Regions from separate parts of the Homo sapiens genome. Here region 2 is linked to region 1. The links are contacts of gene promoters, found by promoter capture Hi-C in human tissues and cell types (Jung and others, 2019). All regions are on one chromosome and are shown on one strand. Each heading gives the region's core, a stretch centred on a gene start or on the middle of the fragment in contact. The rest is flanking DNA. Distances are from core to core; before and after follow the strand shown.

What was found. The method cuts DNA at HindIII sites, captures the fragments that hold promoters and counts their contacts. A contact is called where the count stands out against the background at its distance.
Region 2: a fragment that was not itself captured here is called in contact with the fragment with the promoter of KRT83 in region 1 in 2 of the 25 tissues and cell types used here (dorsolateral prefrontal cortex and mesenchymal stem cells).

Annotation. Positions count from the first base shown.
Region 1 is chr12:52,318,741-52,326,220 of GRCh38, forward strand. It overlaps KRT83 (keratin 83), which reads right to left and starts at 2,658. Exons shown (of 9, transcript NM_002282.3): 1 at 2,212-2,658; 2 at 416-624. The coding sequence starts at 2,595. The HindIII fragment of the contact is 13,306 bases long and covers 1-4,738 here.
Region 2 is chr12:52,105,658-52,113,137 of GRCh38, forward strand. SMIM41 (small integral membrane protein 41) reads left to right here. Exons shown (of 3, transcript NM_001369216.1): 3 at 1,722-2,598. It overlaps SMIM41-AS1 (SMIM41 antisense RNA 1), which reads right to left. Exons shown (of 4, transcript XR_007063312.1): 2 at 1-344. It also overlaps the pseudogene OR7E47P. Among named protein-coding and RNA genes, the nearest start is that of SMIM41-AS1, 8.8 kb to the right of the region's middle. The HindIII fragment of the contact is 8,588 bases long and covers 1-5,544 here.

The DNA of each region.
Region 1 (7,480 bases), core at 1,408-3,907:
GCAGGCTCCACAAGAACCCGCACTGTGTGGCTTGCGTGGCCCTGTGTCACTATCACCAGCACAGCGTGCTGCATGTGGTAGGTGATCAGATAGTGTTAGCTGAGTGAGAGAGCAAACTTAGGAAGACACATGTCCAGGACTTTGAGATCTGGTCTCAAAGGGACCCAGGAATACAAGTTTTTGTGAAAAATGGATGGAGAAAGGGAGAGAGCATTGTTTCCCTGATCTGCTGGTGGAAAGACAAGCTGAGCCTCCATCCCCCACACCCAAGGGACCCCTGTGTCTCAAACAGGGGGTACAGGTTCTTCTCCACTCTCAGGCAGAGATGCCAGCTGCAGACTGGATACTCCTCCGGGCTCAGGGAGCTGCCACCATGCTATTTCCTGTGCCCAGAACCCCTCCTGCCCACACTCACTTCTTCTTGTAGCCCTCCAGCACCTCCTGCACGTGGTTGAGCTCTGAGGCCAGCCTCCCACTGTCAGCCTCCACGCACTCGGCCTCCCGCCGCAGAGTCTCGATGTAGCCAGCAAACAGGGGCTCCAGGTTACTCTGGCAGCACTCGCGGTTTTGGTAGAACTGCAGCTTTGTCTCCAGCAGCTTGTTCTGCTGCTCCAGGAAGCGCACCTGCCACCCAGAGGCAGAGCCTAAGAACCTCTTCTTGCAGCATCAGAGGACAAAGAGGGGTTCCCAGCACGAGGGCCTGAAAGCCCCCAACTCTCTGACCCAGAGTCTTCCCTGGAAGGCGTTATGTCATCTCTCTCAAAAATGCCACCAGGGCTTAACCAGTTCACCACCTGGAAGTTCTTCCTGGGAGTTAATCTCTTCTAAGTCAGTTTACCTGGTGTCATGGAAAATGCTTGAAGAGTCCAGATTCTGCTGCCACTTGTTAACATTGTGCCCTTGGATAAAGCACTCACCTCCTCTGTAGAGTGGCGAGGTTAAAGCTCACCTTACTATGAGGATTAAAAGAACCCTTTAACAGAAAGGCACCCCACACTGAACAGCTACTGCTGTTCAATCACACCAAGCCAGGTGGACCTTTTTAGAAAGGCAAACTGTAAAAGTTGAAAAATAAAGCATGTGCCAATTATTCAAACCCTACAACAACAATGCAATTAGAATAATAGTCACCTGCAATATGAGAGTAGGAATGTCCTGTGCTCCAACCCCCTTATTTTACTGATGAGGCCAAGGAGGTTCCCTGACTGCCTGAGAGCTCACAGTGGCAGAGAAGAGCTCAAACTCCGATCTTCTGCGCTGCAGGGGGTGTCTTCTCTCCCTTTGACAATTATAGGAACATCCCTCTCCCAGCGATGAGGTTGGCCCACTACTCCACTCAGCTTCTTTTGTCTAATAACTTGGCCACACCCTTGGTAGGTCCTATCTTATGCTATCCTTGGTCTCTCATGCTATTAGAAATTCCACATTTTTTTTTCCCGATCCTTTCTGGTGGGCATCTCTCTAGTGTGACTCCTCTCTTGAGGTTTTGGCTCTGGAGGGCTCTTTCCAACCCCAGAACATGTTCCTAGTCAGAGCCTTTTCTCCCAGTCTCTCACATCACTGCCACATGGTGGTTGCCTGGATTCAGTGGAGAAGGTGGCTGCAAACTCTAGTTGGACACTGACTACACAGATGGTTTCAACCAAACCCAGACTGTGCACTGCCTGCCTCCCCATAAAGCCTGTGAGGATGGGGACCATGACTCTTGCTCACCCCTGGATCCTGAGCCCCAGGAACAGTGGCTTGGACAAAATACTCTAGACCCTGCTCAGTGGCCAAATCACTGTGTGGTATAGAAAGAGTTCTGTGCCATCCACGAGACCCACTTCCAGACAGTTTTCCAGCACCACACTTATTAGCCCTGCCTTGATGGAGACAGCATCTCCTTGGCATTTAAGCAGTTATTTGGCTTCAAATGCCCTGAGCGCCCACACAGTGGTCCTTTGCTCACTAGGTGATATTATCACTCAGTGTGGAAGGCTCTGCCCCTCGTTCTGCTTTTGTGTTTTCAGTTAATCTCCCCCATCAGTCTGGTAGCTCCCGGTCCCATTTTTGTCTTTCTGTCTGTGTCCTAGAAGTATGACTACCTTTCCCTTTGGCCTGGGAACTTCTGTGGGCAAGTTCTTGCCTTTGACTTCCCTGTCAGTGCCCAGCCTGAGTTCTGAACATGAGTAGGGGTTCAGGAAGGGTGTGATCCAGGACGACACCCACCTTGTCGATGAAGGCCGCGAATCTGCTGTTGAGGGACTTGATCTGCTCCTTCTCCTCCTGCTTCACGCACTGCGCGTTGGGGTCTATCTCCAGGTTGAGGGGCGTGAGGAGGCTCTCGTTGACCGACACGGTGGTGATGCATGGGGGGCTGGGTCCGCACACGCCCCCGGAGCGGTAGCCGAAGCTGCGTCCGCAGGAGCCGGCGCGGAAGCCCCCGCACACGCTGTGGCTGCCAAAGCCCCCGGTGAGGCCGCGGTAGCAGGAGATGCCGCGGTAGGGGGCGGCGGTGATGCAGCAGCGGCTTGGCCGGGGCCCGCAGGCAGAGACACAGCTGAAGTTTCCAGGGCGGAACCCACAGCCTATGGAGTTGAAGCCACAGGTCATGACGGAGGTTAGGAGGTGTCTGAACAGTGGAGTAGATGGCAGAGGATGGAACCAAGGGCCTGTGCTCCCTGGCTGATGGCAGGCCCTTTTATGTGCCAGGGGCAGCTGGTGTTAAAAGAGGGAGCAAAGAGACAATAGCTGAATTTTATTGGCTTGGCATCACCCTGGCCTCTTAAGCTAGAACCCTGCTTGCCTCTTCAGTGTGGCTGCATCAACAATCCCTGGCCACGGGCCCTGTTTCATCTTCAAAGCCCTTTATAAGCTTCCTCCTTGCTCCTGCCCCTCCCACTGGCACTGCTGTGGAGCGGGGAGAGGGGTTCCTGAAAGCATTAGTTGCATTCTGCGGTCCAAGCGAGGGGAATGGGTGCAGTGACCTGGGGTAAAGCCTGCTCTCTGAACCCTGTTCTGAAAGGGGCAGAGCTAGGCTATGGGCCCTGGACCCATGGCCAAGCCCTGGGGTGGAGTGGCTGGCCTGTCCCAAGGAGGGGGCTGCCTCTGAGACAACCTCTTGCTGTAGGCTTTCCTGTCTTTTTCTCAAAGGCGGGTTCCTTTCCTCATTGTCAAGATTGGCCGCTCCTATCCTATTCCTGCTCAGAGCCTGGTCAAGGATGGGAGTGGGGGTAGAGATTTGGGGTGGGAGGAGGGCATGTTCTTTGCACTTTGGGTATTCCTAGTGCAGGGACACCATCTGGGACATGGAAGAAACTGATTCAGAGAGTTCAGGACAGTGCCAGGGCTATGCTTCAGAGTTCCAGGTGTCATTGCTGATGGGATCAGGAGCGGGGAGTGTGGAATACCTCAGAGCTCCAGGGACTCATGGAGGAGAGTGGGGACCTGGGCTTGAGGAGGATTGGGGTGGGGTAGTACAGGATTGAGAGATGACCAGAAAAGAGTCTGGCTCTGATTTGCAGACTAGACTATGTGTATTCATTTATTCATTTATTCATTTATTCATTTATTCAGGAAATACTTATTTGGTGCCCACCAACTATGCACTAGCCACTGTGCTAGGTTCTGGAAATCCTACAGAGACCTGGGGTGTTTGGAGGTAGCATGCATGTGGGGGAGCCAACATTTGGCTAGGGGGAAAGATGAGAAGCCACAGATGGGGGGAAGGCCCTCACAATGTCCAGGCTGATTGGTGTTCTTTAGGTTCCCAGCAGGGAAGCTCAGTGATGGGGTCTTGGGGTGTATGTACTCACCAGGAAGGAGGGAAGGTGCGGGAGGTGAGGGACATCAGCAGGGTCCTTAAATGAGATCACTCTCTCACCTCAGAGAACACACTGGGTGAGAGAAGGGTGCTAGCTCATGTGGCTGTTCCTAAAGCCAAGCTCTCTTACTTTGGGCCCTTGTTCCTTTGGGTTAGGACAGGCAATGGCTTTGATGGATGGACAGTCGGACCGAGCCAGGAGGTTTGCCTTAACCCGAGGACCTGAGCCCATCAACCCTTCCAAACACACATCTCTGGACTGCTTTCGTCAGGAGAGGATGAGGAGGACTCCACTGATGGACCTGTGTCCTGACCCAGCCACAACCCAACACTGACCCACTCTGGGCTAATAGTAACCCTCCTGTGACTCTCATCTTTTGCCCTTCCCACTCCCGCTCAGGATGAGTGGGCCAGTTATATCCCAGAGTGGGGATCTGGGGATGATGGAAGAGGGGCCCATCTTCTGTGGGCCTGAGGGAGGGCAGGCGATGGTGCTGTTGAAATCTCTTAGGGAGCTGGACATCTGCCATGGATCCAAAAAAAGGACTCTCCTAGCCTCTCTTCTTGGGTCCTGTGGACAGGCTTCCAGAGTCTTGTGTCTGGGGCAGGAACTCTGGGGGTGTGGGCTGTGTGATAGGGGATCCTGGTGTGAAAGACACACCAGGGAGGCACAGCCTGAGGGTACCTGGGGGGCCTGGGGGTGGCTGACTGCAGCTGAGTGGCTAGTGGGATTTTGGGAGCATCTTTGAGGGAGGCTGGGCTGGCTGGTGCTGTCATGTTCAGTCTTGGTTGGGTCAAACATCTGCTAGACAGCCAAGAAAGACCAGGCTCTTCACCCACCCACACTGGAACCAGTGAGCACCTGGAATGCTCTCCACACATATCCAATGATTATGGGGGATCTGTTTCTTGGTGAAATGCTGAGGACTGCAGGGCAGTGAACCCTCTGTGAAGCATTTCTCCATCACGATGCTGGAAACTGCGCTGCTGTCTTCTGACCTGGCTCATCTGTCTCAATCCAGCAGGCTTGGATCATGTTGGACCCCTCCACCGAGGGGCTCTGTGTAGACACATGACCTCCTTGGGATGGGGGAGCCATGACCATGCCCACCCCTGCCCTGATTGGCTCTGAAGATAGCATGGACCCTGGAGATAAAAAGACACAATTCGAAGCCCAACTATATCTCTTACTAGCTTTGTGCCATGGCACAGGCGTTTTCCCCCAGGGTCCTTACTTGTGAAATATAAATGGTAATCCACAGCTTGCTGGAGGTTGGGAGGACCGAGCGAGTGCCTGGTGGAGGGAAGCGCCACCCCCACCTCACTTTGTGCTAGCAGGGTGACTGGGTCTTGGTTGCAGGCACCTGGCAGGGCCTTGCAAAGGGACAGTGTACACGGCTAGTGAGATGCAGAGTACCATTCCTGGGTAAGCAGAAAGCAGTTTTACAAGGCAATCATTGCCGCCTCAGAAAGCCTTAATTAGAGCATCTATTTGTAAATGGCTCAGAACAAAGAGAACTGCAGACCAGGAGTCCCTTGAAAACAGACTTAGACAGGAAGCTGACAAAGAGACAGCAGCACCCAAATCCCCAGGCTGCCTCTTCCCTCCTGGGCTCCAGGCTGTGATTGGTTCCCGCCCTAACCATGGGCCCATAAAGGGTCCGGCAGAGCCACAGGCTGTTTCAGTCACCAGGGCCTGGACTCTGTGCCTGCCCTTCACACCTGGTCTGGGTTGGCCTGGAGGAATGACCGCTTGCCCTGTTGATCTGGTCCTCAGATTCCCACCTGTCTCTCTTGGGGTGCAACCCCCTGGCCTTATTCCTGTGTGCTTTTCTGGTGTCTACCTGCCTGTCTGCTGGGTTTCTGACACTCTGATACTCTGACTTTTGTCACTTCTTTCTTGCCTTAATATCCATGTTGCTTCACATTTTTTGTGCCTTCTTAATGGATTTTTGATAAACAACTCTGAAATGAACATTAGTAAACACATCTTTGGGCACCTGTCTAGTAATTTCCTTAAAACAAATTCCTGGAGGTGAAATCGTTGAGTAAAAGGGGACTGTTCTGGTCTTCTCCAGGTGTGCCTGGCCACAGGTCTGTTGCTCACCTGGCTGTGGAAGTGACATTTCCATGGGAAGCCTGCTGCAGTGAAGTCATTAGATCTGGGAGTCCTGGAAATATGGCTGCAGCTCTCATTTCAGTCACTGTGTGTGTGTGATGCTTTAGCTAATCTCTGTAAACCTTGTGTCTTCATCTGAAAAATGAGGATTCTAATACTGGCCTTTTTGGCCTTTGCGAAGATGAGCTGGGGTGGTGCATGGGAAGCCCGTGGAAGGCACGCAATCCAGGAGGGTGGAAGGTGCATGCGGCTTCCTGCTCCAGGCAGGAAGAATTCTTTGATGCCTCCAGTTTTGCCTTCTGGCCTTGAACTCACAACACACCTCCAGAGCTGATAAGATGTGGCACCTTCACATACTCACTACTATTTACTATGCAAGTTCTCTGTACCGAAGAGGAGGGAGAGAGATTTAATACACAGCCCCCGTCCTCAAGGATCCAACAAAGTAGTTGGGCAGATTTGTAAGTATGCACAATTTGTATTCTGGATGAAGCAGTTCTTCAAGACTCCTCTTCCTCGGAGTGGGAGCTTGCTTTGGGCTGGAGCAGTCAGAGGCTTTGTAGGAAAAGTCAGACTTGAGCTGAGATTTGAAGGATAGAGGGGTTTGGAAAGGTCAGAAGGGTGGAGGCAATGCCAGGCAATGAATGGAAGAAGAGCACAGACGTGTTCACAGGGCGGTGGATACCGTGGTTGAAGCTTAGAGGATGTCACACCTAAAGGATGAACTTGAGGCACATGCCAATGAAGACTGAGAGCAAGACAAAGGTGTCCATTCTCAAGGCCATGCTGTAAAATACTAGAATTCCTGGCCAAGAAAAGAAATGTCTGTAAGAATTGGAAGAGAAGAGATAGAACTGCCATTATTTTCAGACAATGGGATCAGCTGTGTAGAAAACCCAACACAGTCAACTGATACACGGTAGAAGTAACAGGAAAAGTTGAGCAGTGCTGCTAGTTACAAAGTCAACTTACAAAAATCAAAAGTGCTTTTCTTTATCAGTGACAGCTAATCAGAAAATATATGGAAAATATGGCTGGGCACAATGGCTCTTGCCTGTAATCCCAGCATGTTGGGATGCCAAGGCAGGCAGATCACTTGAGGTCAGGAGTTCGAGACCAGACTGGCCAACATGGTGAAACGCTGTCTCTACTAAAAATACAAAAAAATTAGCCAGGCACGTTTGTAGTTCCAGCAACTTGGGAGGTTGAGGCAGGAGAATCGCTTGAACCCGGGAGGCGGAGGTTGCAGTGAGCTGAGGTCGCGCCATTGCACTCCAGCCTGGGCGACAAGATCTCAAACAAGATGTCATTCCTAAGACAGATTAAAAACAATAAAGTATTATATAACTTTATAAAGTATGCACAAGATGTCTATGGAGAACAATATAAAACTCTATAATGAAAATAAAAAACAAAATCTGATTAAATGGAATTATGCTATATTCAGGAATACTTTGACCTAGCATTCTAAAGTTATAAATTGCCCCTAAATTAGTTGGCAAATTCAATGCAAACCCAACAAAAATTCCAGCCGGATTTATTTTGAGGAACTTGAT
Region 2 (7,480 bases), core at 1-2,500, 210 kb before region 1:
CAGGAGAATAGCTTGAACCTGGGATGCGGAGGTTGCAATGAGCTGAGATCACTCCACTGCACTTCCAGCCTGGGCAACAGAATGAGACTCCGTCTCAAAAAAACAAAAACAAAAACAAAAAAAAACTCCCACAACTTTTTGAGAGTTGGAAGACCATGAAGTATAGTATCTGGGACTTAGAGTCTGGCCATTAATTTTGAATACCATCCTTTCTACTTATCTGTATGGCAAGGGGTGAGATGTCCATCCTCTGAGACTCAGCACTCTCATCTGAGTTGATTTGTAGTTGATCCAATGGAAGTGAGTGATGATTAAACCGATCGTGGGCTCCCGCTGCATGATCTCTATGATGGATGCATAAAGTAAAGGTAAAGTGAATTTTAGATACATTTGTTAATATTTTAAGCTTAAACTCCATACAATTCAATGGAAATATCCCCTGACCTGAAGTTCTGGTTTCCCTGCATTCCAGACAGGACATTTTATTTTGTCCTTATCTCAGTAAGTACTGAGTATTGTGAGAGGAACAAGTGAGTCTCTTTTGTTTCTGACTCCCCAGAGCCTACATCTTGCTTGGCACATAGGAGACAGCAAAAGTAAACATCTATGTGAATTATTGAATTGACACTTCCTTGGTTCACAAAAATTGGCTGTCATCAGTGTGACTTCGACTTACGTGATTCTTTTTGTTTTTTGTTTTTTGAGACGGAGTTTTGCTCTTGTTGCCCAGGCTGGAGTGCAGTGGTGTGATCTCAGCTCACTGTAGCCTCTGCCTCCCAGGTTCAAGCCATTCTCCTGCCTCAGCCTCCTGAGTAGCTGGGACTACAGGTGCCCTCCGCCATACCGGGTGAAGTTTTTGTATTTTTAGTAGAGGCGGGGTTTCACCATGTTGGCCAGGATGGTCTTGATCTCATGACCTCGTGATCTGCCCTCCTCGGCCTCCCAAAGTGCTGGGATTACAGGCGTGAGCCACCGCGTTTGGCCAAACTTTCTGATGAAAACTCTAAGTCCCCCTAAGCTAAGGACAGGAGTTATAGCTTACATGAATTTTAAAACAAGACCCACCGATTTGAGTAAGCAATTACTCTCTTGAAGGAGAAAAGTCAGAAAACATAATGATGAAATCACTAGGACCTAACTCGCATGTGGAACTATTTTCTGCTTATGAACTATCAACTTTAAGTTCATTTCCAGATGGCATGGTCTCAGCTGTTATACAGTGTTTATAAATGTTCTAAATCAAGGAAATTTGTATCAATCTATTAGAATAAAAAATATTTGAGTTCTTAATTTTCTTTAGTTAGGATAACCTTTTTCTTAAAGTGAAGAGAATGGTTTTATTACATATTTTTCTTCGGAAAAGATAGGCTGTATTTTCTAGCAATTATGAATTTGTTATTTATGATGATCTGGTTCTTGGAACATTCTTGAATCTAGTGTCTCTAAGGCAGGTATGTACAGCAAGAACTGAATAACACAGAATCAATGATGAAAGCATTATAAGACAATTCATTTTGTCAGAACTGCAAAATATTCCTGAGTGTGGATTGCTCTGGAATCTGAAAACATTACTTGTGAATTGCTTGTATCCAAAATGCAGACACAATGCTGGGTGTTGGTTTACTTGTTTCTGATTTCTCAACGCTCTTTTCTAGGCAAAAGTTGTCCAAACTATACAGACCCACAGAATCTAACAGATGTCTCTATATTCCTCCTCCTAGAACCTCAGAGGATCCAGAACGGCAGCTGGTCCTTGCTGGACTGTTCCTGTCCATGTGCCTGGTCATGGTGCTGGGGAACCTGCTCATCATCCGGCCATGAGCCCTGACTCCCACCTCCACACCTCCATGTACTTCTTCCTCTCCAACCTGTCCTTGCCTGACATCGGTTTCACCTCCACCACGGTCCCCCAGATGACTGTGGACATCCAGTCTCGCAGCAGAGTCATCTCCTATGCAGGCTGCCTGACTCAGAAGTCTCTCTTTGCCATTTTTGGAGGCACGGAAGAGAGACATGCTCCTGAGTGTGATGGCCTATGACCGGTTTGTAGCCATCTGTCACCCTCTATATCATTCAGCCATCATGAACCTGTGTTTCTGTGGCTTCCTAGTTTTGCTGTCTTTTTTTTTTCTCAGTCTTTTAGACTCCCAGCTGTACAACTTGATTGCCTTACTAATGACCTGCTTCAAGGAGGTGGACATTCCTAATTTCTTCTGTGACCTTTCTCAACTCCCCCATCTTGCCGTTGTGACACCTTCATCAATAACATAATCATGTATTTCCCTACTGCCATATTTGGTTTTCTTCCCATCTCGGGGACCCTTTTCTCTTACTATAAAATTGTTTCCTCCATTCTGAGGGTTTCATCATCAGGTGGGAAGTATAAAGCCTTCTCCACCTGTGGGTCTCACCTGTCAGTTGTTTGCTGATTTTATGGAAGAGGTGTTGGAGGGTACCTCAGTTCAGATGTGTCATCTTCCCCCAGAAAGGGTGCAGTGGCTGCAGTGATGTACACGGTGGTCACCTCCATGCTCAACCCCTTTATCTACAGCCTGGGAAACAGGGATATTAAAAGTGTCTTGCGGCGGCCGCACGGCAGCACTGTCTAATCTCAATATCTTCTTATCTGTTCCATTCCTTTTGTAGTGTGGGTTAAAAAAGGCAGCAAGGTCAAATAAGAATGATATCACAGGGTGAACACCCACTGTGATATTAGGAGTAATACCTCCCTAGGATATAAAATATACTGTCACAGAGTATACACACATGCGGTACACCCACTGTGATATTAGAAGCAGTATCTCCCTTAAATATTATGAAAAATATCACAGGGTGTGCACACTGTGTGATATTAGGAGTAATATTTACCCTGGATATTACGACTAATATCAAGGGTGTACACACACGGGGTACACGCACTGTGATACCAGGAGTTGTATCTCCCTAGGATATTATGAATAATATCACAGGGTATACACTATGTGTGTACATCCACTGTGATATTTGAAGTAATATCTCTCTATGAGATTACAAATAATATCAAAGGGTGTACACCCCTGTGACATATTAGGAGTAACATCCTTCTAGGGTATTACAGATAATGTCACAAGCTGTACACCTTCTGTGACATTTTGTACACTCTTTGTGACATTAAAAGAAACATCTCCCTAGGATATTATGAATAATGACACAGGCGGTGTACACACATGGTGTACACCGCCTGTGCCATCAGGAGTAACATTCCCCTAGGATATTATGAATAATATAACAGCAGGTGTACACACATGGTGAACACCCCATGTGACATTAGGAGGAACATGCCCCTAGGATATAGGAATAGTATCACAGATGTTGAATACACATGATATACACCCCCGGTGACATTAAAAGTAACATCCCCCTAGGATATTACGAATAATATCACAGGGAGTACACCCCATGTGACATTAGGAGTAACATCCCCCGAGGATATAACGAATAATATCAGAGGGTGTACATGCATTGTGACCTTAGTAGTAACATCTCTTTAGGATACTACAAATAATATCACAGGGTGTACACGCATTGTGACATTGGTAGTAACATCCCGCTAGGATATGACGAGTAATATCACAGGGTGTACACCCCCTGTGACAACAGTAGTAACATTCCGCTGGAATATGAAGAATAATATCACAGGAAGTACAGCCCCTGTGATTTACGAGTAATATTTCCATAGAATATTACAGGTCATATCACTGTGTGACTCTGTGTACACCCCGTGTGGCATTAGGAGTAACATCCCATAAAACTATTACGAATAATATCACAGGGTGAACACCCCCTGTGACATGAGGAATAACGTAGTTTTAGGATATTATGAATGATATGACAAGGGGTACACAGCCTGTGATGTTAGGAACAATATCCGTCTAGGATATTAGGAATAATATCACAGGGAACACACCCCCTGTGATATTAGGATATTATGAATAATATCACAAGGTGTACACGCATTGTGACATTAGTACTAATATCCCTCTCGTATACTATGAATAATATCACAGGGTGTACCTCCCTGTGACATTAGGAGTAACGTTCCCCTAGAATAGGACAAATAATATCACAGGGGGTACACACCCTGTGACTTTAGGAGTATCACCGCCCTGGAATATGAGGAATACTGTCTCAGGGTATTAACCCCCTGTGACCTGAGGAGTAACATCCCACTGGAATATTACGAATAATATCACAGTGTGTACACCAACTGTGATATTAGGTGTCCTATTTATTTTTAGGATATTAGGATACACAAATTGTGTGTACACCCACTGTGATATTAAAAGTTATATCTCCCTAGGGTATTGCAAATAATATAATGGGTGTACACCCACTGTGATATTTGAAGTAATATCTCCCTAAGATATGACAAAAAATATCAAAGGGTGGACCCCGTCTGTGACATCAAAAGTAACATCTCTTGTGGATATTCCGAATAATATCACAGGGTGTACACAGCCTGTGACATTAGGAGTAGCATCCCCATAAGATATTCCGAGTAATATCACAGGTTGTACACCCCATGTGACATTAAGAGTAACATCTTCTTAGGATATTGTGAACAACATCACAGGGTGTACACCCCCTGTGACTTTAAAAGTAACATCCCCCTAGAATATTACAAAAAATATAATGGGTGTATACCCCGTGTGATATTGGGAGTAACATCTCCCTAGGATATTACGAAGAATATCACTGGGTGTACATCCTCTGTCATATTAGGAGTAACATCCTTCTAGGATATTATGAATAATATCACAAAGTGTACACACACTGTGATATTCGGAGAAATATCTCTCTAGGATATAAGGTATCATATCACAGAATGTACACACATGGTGTACACCCACTGTGATATTAGAAGCAATATCTCCCTATGATAGTATGAAAAATATCAAAGGGAGTACACTGTGATATTAGATGTAATGTTTACCATGGATATTACAAATAATATCACAGTGGGTGTACACACATAAGGTACACCCACTGTGGTATTATTTGTACTTTCTTAGAGAGATGTAACTCTCTAATATAACACAGAGAGCTATAACTCTGTAATATCTCTGAGATATTACAAATAATTTCACAGTGGGTGTAGTGTACACCCACTGTGAGATTTACAGGAATATCTCCCTATAAGACTACAAATATTATCGAAGGGTGTACACCCCCTGTGACCTTAGGAGTAACATCCTTCTGGATATCAGGAATAATATCATAAGGCATACACACCCTGTGACATTTTGTACACCCTTTGTGACATTAAAAATCACATCCCCCTAGTATATTATGAATAATATCAAAGGCGGTTGACGCACACGGTGTACACATCCTGTTACATTAGGCATAATATTTTTCTGTGATTTATGAATAATATCACAGAAGGTGTACATACATGGTGTACACTCCAGGTGACATTAGGAGCAACATCCCCCCAAGATATTAGAAATAATATTACCAGGGTTGCATACACATGGCGTACTCTCCCTGTGACATTGGCAGCAACATTCCCCTAGAATATTATGAATAACATCAGAGGGGGTGTACACACATAACGTATGCACCTTGTAAAACTAGGAGTAGCATCTCCCTAGGATGTTATGAATAATATCACAGAATGTGTACACACATGGCGTATACCCCATGTGATGTTAGGAGTTACATCCTTCTAGTATGTTAGGAATAATACCACAAAGGTGTTCCCACATGGTTAACAGCATATGGAATATTAGGATTAACATCCCTCGAGAATAGTACAAATAACATCACAAGGGCTGTGCGCACATGGTGTACATGCCCTGTGACATTAGGAGTACATTTCCCTGACAGATTACGAGTAATATCACAGAGTGTACACCTTCTGTGACATTTGGAGTAACATCCCCTAGGATAGTACGAAAAATATCACAGGGTGTACCTGGGGAGTAACATCTTTCTAGGATATTGTGAATAATATCACAAAACGCACAGCCCCTGTGACACGAGGAGTAACATCCACCTAGGATATTATGAATACTATCACAGGGAGTACACCCCTTGTGACAGTAGAAGCAACCTCCCCCAAGGATATAACGAACAAATACAGAGGATGTACACGTGTTGTGACATTAGCAGTAACATCCATTTAGGATATTACGAATATTACCACAGTGTGAACACCCCCTGTGATATTAGGAGTAACATCCCATTACAATATGGGGAACCATATCATACAGTGTACACCCCCTGTGACATTAGAGGTAACATTTCTTTAGGATATTATGAATAATATTACAAGGTGTACAGCCCCTGCAATATTAGGAGTAACATGTCCATAAAATATTATGAATAATATCACTGTTTGTACACCACGGGTGACATTAGGAGTAACAGCCCCCAAAACTATTATGAATAACTTCACAAGGTGTACACCCTCTGTGACATTAGGAGTAACATCTCTCTAAAATATTACGAATAATATCGCAAAATGTACAACCCCTGTGACATTAGAAGTAACATCGCCTGAGGATATAAGAAATAATAACAGATTGTGTACCTGCATTGTGACATCAGTAGTAGCATCGCTTTAGGGTATTACGAATGTTATCAGAGTGTGAACACCTTCTGTGACATTAGGAGTAACATCACCCTACAATATTGGGAATAATACCACACGGTGTACACTGCCTGTGACATTAGTGGTAACATTTCTTTAGGATATTAAGAATAATATGACAGGGTGTACAGCCCCTGTGATATTAGGAGTAACATATCCAAAAAAACTTTACAAATAATATCACTGTTTGTACACTACGTGTGACATTAGGAGTAACATCCCCTGAAACTATTATGAATGACTTCACAGATTGTACACCCTCTGTGATATTAGGAGTTAACATCTTCCTAGAATGTGAAGAATAACATCACAGGATGTACACCCTCGTGACATGGGGATCAACATCCCTCTAGGATATTATGAATAATATAACAAAGTGTACACAATTTGTATGGTAGGAGTAACATCCCCCTGGGATACTACGAATCATAGCACAGAAAGCACACCCCCTGTGACAATAGGAGTAACATCCCCTTAGGATAGTACAAATAATATCACAAGGTGTACACGCATTGTGACATTAGTAACAATATCCAGCTAGTATATTGTGAATAATATCACAGCGCATACACATCTGCGACATTAGGAGTAACATCCCCCTAGAATAATATGAATAATATCACAGGGTGTACACACCCTGTGACTTTAGGATAATCATCCCCCTGGATTACTACAAATAATTTCACAGGATGTTAAACCCCTGTGACAATAGGAATAATATACTTCTAGGATATGACGGATAATATCACAGTGTGTACACCCACTGTGACATTAAAAGTTATACCTCCTTCATATATTGTGAATAATATCACAGGGTATACACCACGTGTGCACACCCACTGTGAT